Regions from separate parts of the Homo sapiens genome. Here region 2 is linked to region 1. The links are contacts of gene promoters, found by promoter capture Hi-C in blood cells and fetal thymus (Javierre and others, 2016). All regions are on one chromosome and are shown on one strand. The core of a region is centred on a gene start or on the middle of the fragment in contact, and the rest is flanking DNA. Distances in the headings are between cores, read along the strand shown. Region 1 holds the start of KEL (Kell metallo-endopeptidase (Kell blood group)). Region 2 overlaps EPHB6 (EPH receptor B6).

Region 1 (4,194 bases), core at 675-3,174:
GGGGAGAGTATTGGACTTTCTGTGGAAGGGAAGTTTGAAGAGGAGGCACCATCAGGGTGTACCCACACAGACCAAACACCTCTAGAATCCTGAGTCAGCTTTTTCCCCTCACTCTGATTCCTACTCCCCCCTTAATCAAAATTCCATTGTTCGCTGGCATCACTATTCCCCTAGTCATGCAGAAATGCAACTTGGAGCTCCTCTGTGGCTCTATCATAAACCCCTCCTCCATTCAATCCATTGCCATGACTTTATTCCATACAATTTTTCTTTCTACGCACTTCCCTCCCCTCTGCCATCCCCTTGGGCCGGGCCCTCCCTTCATCACTCCTGCAACACCAAACTAACCACTCTGTTTCTTGTCTTTTATCCAATCAGTCCAGATCCCCAATACCACACCGGCGTTTCTTAGATATTATTGTATCTTGCCACACCTTTCCTCAAAAGCCTTATTTTTCCCAATGCTTTCTTTTCTAATGTATGAAGTTCTGACTTTTCTTTATGACTTTCATGATACCCGACCAGCTGGCCCCAGGGGGCACAATGGCTTTACTCCACTTCTCCACACCCACCCTCATCCTGGCAAGTGCACCATGGCCCTAGCACAGTGCTGATGGAATCTGGAAATATCGCCAGGGGATCATTTGCAAGACTAACCTAATAAATTACATTATTTTTTTCCTGGGATGAGGAAACAAGGACAGAGTTGAAACACCTTCCCCCAGAAATGTGCTTGCCTCTCTCAGACCACAGGTAAGGGCTTAATATGATGTGAGAAAGAGGATTTCTGGCTTGGAATGCAATTCATTTCTATTAACATTTAGAAAGCATCTTGGGTGGGCAGGAATGAAAACCAGACACTGTACATGCTATGACATAGTTTTCAATCACTAAGGAGATGAAGAGGCAAGCTATCAGTGTAACAGAAAGCAGAATGAAAGAAAGAGGGGCTCAGTAAAGCCTTATTCTTTTGTAGAAGGCATGAGATCCTATGAGGTAGGCATAGGCAAGTATTACCCTCATTTTCCAGATGACAAAACTTGCTTACCTGCCTCAGAGTTTAAGTGGCTTGTTTATTGTCACAGAGCTAATAATTAGCAGATTAGGGTCTCCTAGCTGGGTGATCTTTTGAATGCATGACTTTGCCAGCAGCCAGCAGAGCTATGAAACACCGAGAGAAACAATTAAGCATGCTTGGGAACAGTGTGAATGGGCATGGAGCTGGGAGGCCTCCTGGGAAAGGTGGCATTTGACCTGGGAATTGATGAATCCCAGAAAAGCCAATCAGAGAGGTGTGAAAACAAAATTAAAATGGAGACTGGGCCTGAAAAATTCCCAGGCAAACAAAGCCAAAGACCTTAAAAATAGCCATATTCTTGCTAAAACTACAAACATAAATTAAACTTAACTTGGGTCAATTTCTGATAAATGCTTACAACAAATAAAACTTAACCCCAGCCAATGATAAGCAGCCAACTAACATATGATTATGTGACTAGGGACTTTCCAAAAAGTTACCTAAAAAATGCAATTATGTAACTGCAAACTAAGCAAATAATGTTTCATTTTGCTTCTATAACTTCCCAATAAATGCTTGCCTCTGACATTTTGTCATCGCAACACTAAACCTTTGTCGGTCTGGTGCTCCCCAATTCATGAATTGCTTCTTACTTAAATAAACTCTTTAAAATTTTACTGTGCCTCATATTTTTTTTAATACAGAAGAAATGAGAGAAGGAAGAATATTTTAGAAATAAAGGAACTTCATGGGCAGAGTCACAGTGCAAGACAAAAGGAGCAGACCAAGGGCAAGATTGCTTGGGGAGTGAAGACTCCCTCCCTCTTCTCCCCTGAGAAGCTGAGATAAAGGGGGAGGAGAAGCCTGGGTGCCCCCCACTGATAAGCAGGCTCCACCCAGAGGCCAGTCCTGTGTGTCTGGGGACAAGGCGAAAGAGCAGCAGAAGTGCCCCTTCTCCAGGATCAAGGAACTGGGGCGGGGGGTGTTTCCTGGACCCCAGTCCTCCGAATCAGCTCCTAGAGTGGAACCAGGAAGGATTCTGGAGCCACAGAAGATAGACAGATGGTAAGTCCCCTTTTGGAGTCAGAGGCTTAGCGGGGAGGGGTGAGGGTGGCTGTGTGCAAAAGTCCTGCCCCCACTGGAGGGGAGGGAATGTAAGGCTTACAGAGTAGAAAGGTGGGGAGAGAGGGAGGTAATGGGAGAGGGATCGAGAAATGGCACATTCAGGGGACAGGTTCGTTCTGAAGCCCATCTGGGAACACTGCTCCGAGATAAAAATATGTGTGTGGGGGCAGGGCAGGCAGCGAGGGTATCAAAATGGCCTGATAAAACTCTCTTCAATGCACCATTTCCTGAACCAGCTTCTCTCTCCTCCTTCTCCCTCCACTCACTTCAGGAAGGTGGGGACCAAAGTGAGGAAGAGCCGAGGGAACGCAGCCAGGCAGGTGGAATGGGAACTCTCTGGAGCCAAGAGGTAAGTGGCCTCCTCTCCTGGGTCTGGAATACACTGATGTTGTCACTCTCGGCTCTAAAATCCCACAAACACTCATCTACTAACTGTCTGCTTCATCCTCACCCAAAACAGTTGACATTCCTTGTTTTCTCATCTCCCAGGAGTTAAAGTAGGGCTGGGTTTAGGAAGAATTGGGATAATTATTTCTGTATAAAGGGACTGTAGCACCAACAGATTCATTCTCTCTCCTCTTCTTCCCATCCCTGTCTCTCAACCCCCATCTTGTATCTTTCACCTCTTGGTTCCTCCCACAGAGCACTCCAGAAGAGAGGCTGCCCGTGGAAGGGAGCAGGCCATGGGCAGTGGCCAGGCGGGTGCTGACAGCTATCCTGATTTTGGGCCTGCTCCTTTGTTTTTCTGTGCTTTTGTTCTACAACTTCCAGAACTGTGGCCCTCGTAAGCAAGATCCCAGACCCCCTAACCTAGTCAGCCCTCCCCCAGCCCTGGGGCCCAGGCCCAGTCCCTGCTCCTGGGGCTTCTGCCCACCCTGACCCTTGGGGTCCCCATGGTTCTTCTTCCTCCCTGCATCCTAACCATTTCTTTTTCATCAGCTCCCCACTTAGTTACTCACCTGATGTTCTTTGCCTAGCCCCTTGGGGGAGCCCTTGTCTTTTTGCCTCTTCTTTCCCAGCTCTGAGCTTTTCCCCACAGGCCCCTGTGAGACATCTGTGTGTTTGGATCTCCGGGATCATTACCTGGCCTCTGGGAACACAAGTGTGGCCCCCTGCACCGACTTCTTCAGCTTTGCCTGTGGAAGGGCCAAAGAGACCAATAATTCTTTTCAGGAGCTTGCCACAAAGAACAAAAACCGACTTCGGAGAATACTGGGTGAGGAAAGCAGGGTGGAAGATGCTCTGTGCAAGTGGGTGACTCTGTGCCTAAAATGACCATGACTGCTCCAAACCCTGTGTAGTTGTGGAACAACTGATTTGCACCATCCCAGGTGGGATTATACGGGTGGATGATTGGAGATGATGGGGGAGTAAAAGAGGCAGGATGGCGGGAGCTGCCTGGGTTTGCTCATCTCTCACTGTTTCCTGTTGCCTTGCCTTGGGTACCCTTCTTCCGTTTCTCTTGGTCCCTTTCTGCATTTTTTTCTTTATCTAATTTCCATCTTCTTTGCTTCTCCATGTATCCATAATTACTCCATTCTCTCCAACTTGTCCCTTTTAGCAAGCTCCATCTTTGTTGCTTCCTCCAAATGTTCAGTTTCTATCCTATGCATGGTGTTTTCCTCCACAAGCATCTCTTCAGCATCTCCTGCATTTCAATTCTTTTGTCCATCACTCTCATTCTCTAACCTCCAAAACCTCAGTCTCCCAATGACTCCTTGTCAACATTACCCTCTCCCTCTCACCATGCCGGAGCTCCCCTCTCTCACAATGATCTCTTGCTTCTTGCTTCTCCATTGAAACCTTGAACCATGGCAAGCAAGTTGACCTGGAACAAGTGGGATGTTAGAGATGGATGATTGGAGATGATGGATGATGGTGGAATGAAAGGGGTAGGATGGTGGGGTGAGAAGTGAGAGAGGGCTTCATCACTGTGCATAAGAGAAAAAGTGGGTAAGTACAAAGGATATGCTGGAAGAAGAGGAGAGCTGAGTTAATTGGCAGTGGAAGTAAAGTTCCTGCAGATGGAGGCTGGAGAGGAAAACTGCCAG
Region 2 (4,194 bases), core at 682-3,181, 100 kb after region 1:
GTTTGAACAAAGACATTAATTGCAAATTGTTTATAAGAGAAAAGGCTGTAAACTAACTGTCCATCAATTGGAAGACAGTAAAATTATAGTACATCCTTAGAAAGAAATACGGGCAACTGTTGATGCACTGATATAAAAAGCATTTCCAAGTGAAAGTGGGACAATGGAGAACAGTGTAAAGTAAGCTCCCCTTTGTTAAGAAGGATATATACACATACATATGTATGGAAGGATATCTATGGAAGAGCATCCAAAACCTGTGAAAAAGGCAAAGGAAGTGGACTGAGACCCAGTGCAAGGGAGACTTAACTTTCATTGTATTCTCATTAATTGTATCCATTTAAATTTTTGCATTCTTAAACTCTTGCATGTGTATTCTTTCAACTAAATCATTGATTAAAATTTTCTTTAAAACTATAGGATAATAACTGTTTAGTAAAGTTAATCAAAACAGTGTTCATATCCTCATAATGGCTTCTCAGAACTATGTAGTAAGCTACCTCTTATATAAAACCTTCCTGTGCCTTCAGAAGGTACACCACTAAGCTCACGAGCAAATGAACAGAAGGAATAGCTACCTCCAGTGTCACAATGAAGACAAACAGGCTTGGCACCTCCTTTGCTTGTTGATTTAGAGATTGGCGGTTCTCTATCTCTCCTCGTGTCTGAGTCTCAGAAGTCTGTGAATTGGGTGGACTATAATCCCTTTATTTCTGTGAAGAAAAAAAAGAGACATGTTGCCCAGATTGCTCAAAAGACATAGAACTGAGAGGAAAACAAAAAAAAAGCCAATTAGAAGAGAAGTTGTGATTTGTTTTTCCTGGATATATATGGCCTTGGGATTGTTGAAAGCTATCATAAAACAAAAATCAAACTATGAAACTTTAATTGCAACAAATATGAAAATCATAATTTGATTCCTACTAATTTTTTTCTGGCACTGCGGGCTGTGCTGTCCATGAAGTTATCATGGAAATACACCATTTCTACATACGCGTGGGCTGATGTAGAGTGGGCACCTGCCAACTAGCCCCTGAAACTCACCTTTTATACATCTTTAACCCTATTTGTGAAATAGAGAGTTCAATTTACAGCCTATGGAGACAAGTAAGGAGCATTTCCATATGGCAAATTGCTCTTAAGTAATGTTCTTTGCAAAAATGTCTGAAATGTTACTAGGATCCTTCACAGATGAAATAAATGCTTTGGAGAGGAACGGGGAGATCATGAAGTAAAAAGCAGGCATAGCTATTAAATTCTGTAACCTTGGCACCGTCACCAGTGGCTGTTTAATAAATATCCTAAAGTAATTCATGTTGTAAGTGCATCCCCTCCAAACTCTCAATGGCTTAATTTGGAGACGTGCTTGACACACTGAAGCAAACCAGAGTCACGGAGTCCTTAGAAATACTGTTATCAGGGAAAGAAAATGCCAGCAGCAGGTTTTTAAACAATGAAGGCTATTTTACCATTTGCCTAGAAGTTATTCTTTAAAATAGTCTCTTTCTTTCACTCAGAACATGGATGGATTCTGTAATCTGTACAAAGAAGAAACAGTAAGCCCTGTGTCTTCTCAAGCTTACAACTAGGCAAATAATCATGAAGAAGGAACAATAAATATTTTGGAAATATTTCAATGAATTATTTTGAAAGACAGCCAAGCAAGATAGAAAAGATGCGCTGCAGATAGTATCAGCTGTCCAATATGGAACACTCTGGAAGATGAATAGCAAGATATTTGCTTTGATGACCCGAACTACAAGGAACACAGTCACTTGTGGTTGCAATAGGGCGTGCTTGCATAGCCTTAGCATGCCTCGTAATGACAACACGAAGCTGGCCTCCCTCCAGAAGATCCAGAAAAGAGCAAAAGCAATTATGAAACATGGATGTTAAGGCCACTCAGCTTCTGCCATCAAGAAACAGCATAAAGAAAAGAAGAAAATGGAGACACTGCCTGTGGATGACCACTTCAGCAATTTTTTGAAATTTTACTAAGAACAAAGATATTCATTAAAAAGAAATGGTTGAGGATCTTAAAGTACCCAGAAGGATACTTCTAATGTTTGATGAGGACCTCTTTTAGATTCAGATCCAGATGACTGAAGGTTATAAATACATTTTTTCAGAAAAAAAAAATTGTTGCTGAGTCAGACTAGGAAGTTAGGTGAGTTCTTACTTATCAAACAAACCAGATAAATTCAAGACTTTTAATTTTAATATATAAAAAGAATATGGGTGTACCCCTGTTGCAGGAATCCAAATAAAGAAAAAGGAAGCTTTATTAAGATATGGAATAAATTGCTGTCAGCAAATTCATACCACTGCAGATTCTTTTGAAGCCAATTTCAAAGGCAGAAACATAAGTGACAAGAACACGGCTGCTCCACATGCCTGGAATGCTAAGTAAGCAGGACTCAGAACTTGATTTTTCAAAGGTGTCTTCAATGGTTGTGGGCATGGAGCATCTTCTGCATTTGGTCCAGGAGAGCATCCCAGGGACAGGCCAGTACATTTCTCCTGCCACAGAGATGGGAAGCAGCCTCTGCAAAGCCAGGCCCCTTGCTCCTCTCTCACAGCCTGCTTGAGAGTCCTCTCTCCTCTGACTTACAAAAGGAACTGGTCAGTATTTAGAAATTCTCTAACACAAGAATGTGCAAAAGAACTTATCTCCTTTAGAAAAATATTCACATTTCAGATGTGTATAAGGTTTTAAAAATATAAAACCAGAAGCAGCAGAAATGTGAACATAAAACAATGGTGGAGAAAACGAGACGGATTAGACAAAGTTTTAGGTAACAAAAATTGCAGTCTATGACTTTATAATATGTTCTCAGCTTCTTTTATAGATATATCACTTAATATCTTTTTGATACAGTAGAGACAATAGATCCACAAGCCTGCTACATCTCTTTGGTTTACAAAAATAAGACTGTTTCTTAGGTATCAAGGTTGTGTTTTGTTTTCAGAAACTGGCAAAAAGTAAAGATTTGTAGAATCATAGGTTACAAAGCATAGCTTACGAGTTATGTTGCTATAAAAATGAAATATTTCACTTTGGGAGGCCAAGGTGGGCGGATCACAAGATCAGGAGATCGAGACCGTCCTGGCTAACACGGTGAAACCCCGTTTCTACTAAAAATACAAAAAAAAAAAAAAAAATTAGCTGGGCGTGGTGGCGTGTGCCTGTAGTCCCAGCTGCTGGGGAGGCTGAGGCAGGAGAATGGCGTGAACCCGGGAGGCAGAGCTTGCAGTGAGCCGAGATCGTGCCACTGCACTCCAGCCTCGGCGACAGAGCAAGATGCTGTCTCAAAAAAAAAAAAAAAAAAAAAAAAAAAAAAGAATGACTTAAAAGTAAATTAAATTGGTAAATTGGTAAGAATTTAAAAAATTAATCGTGCTCCAATTAAATGCTAAATATGATATTTTCATGAGCAAATCAAGCTTACTTAATATAGTTTATGCACCTCAATCCACAAAGTGAATTTTTAAAGATTAAATAATGTAAGCCAAATAAGCTTGGAGGAAGGTAGGCAGAAGACATATTAGGCCATTAAAATGGGTTACTGTGGGAGGTAGAAATGAAGGATTGTAGGTGGGGGCATTAATTTTGTCTTACACATAATTCAATTATTTTTCTTGTTACAGTAAGCATACCTTATTTTTATAATTAACGTAAAATCTCATAATTAAAATCTAAACAAAAAAGAAAAATATTTGTAAAACCTAGACAAATAAGCATACGTTTACATTTTATTCACTCCCCATGCCATTTTCCTTCTATGTTTCAAAATATCAAGAAATGTTCATCTATAAGAAGAAGGTAGAGGTGGAAATACAGTAGGAGCTGAGAATGAATGAGTGAAGTAATGCCAACAAGAAAACCAAAATAATTGTTATCTCTGGCTAGTCTTTAAGCTTGTCTCCCAAGAAGTTCCAACTGTCCCGCTGCTGACATCATGCATGCTTCTCTTCGACGATGTCAAGCAAAGGGATGAGGCTATGAAGGGACAGAGGGGAACCCAGGGGACTGTCCACTGGGAACACATAGTAAAGGGCATGGCCCCAAACCGAGCCCAGACAGGAACAATTTAGTGAGACAAAGCAGGCTGCAGAGTCCAGCAGGGACAGAACAGTCCCAAGGGCAAAGCGGTTCGAGGTTTTATGTCTGGTGTGGTTGCTGGGCTGGTCCTT

What was found. The method cuts DNA at HindIII sites, captures the fragments that hold promoters and counts their contacts. A CHiCAGO score of 5 or more calls a contact.
Region 2: a contact is called between a fragment that was not itself captured here and the fragment with the promoter of KEL in region 1, in 4 of 17 cell types (erythroblasts, M0 macrophages, megakaryocytes and 1 more). The highest score is 7.5, in erythroblasts.

Annotation. Positions count from the first base shown.
Region 1 is chr7:142,960,093-142,964,286 of GRCh38, reverse strand. KEL (Kell metallo-endopeptidase (Kell blood group)) reads left to right here and starts at 1,924. Exons shown (of 19, transcript NM_000420.3): 1 at 1,924-2,083; 2 at 2,415-2,492; 3 at 2,786-2,927; 4 at 3,183-3,359. The coding sequence starts at 2,081. RefSeq lists a silencer at 1,965-2,160. The HindIII fragment of the contact is 12,002 bases long and covers 1-4,194 here.
Region 2 is chr7:142,857,571-142,861,764 of GRCh38, reverse strand. EPHB6 (EPH receptor B6) reads right to left here. Exons shown (of 20, transcript NM_004445.6): 2 at 579-713. Among named protein-coding and RNA genes, the nearest start is that of EPHB6, 4.6 kb to the right of the region's middle. The HindIII fragment of the contact is 701 bases long and covers 1,581-2,281 here.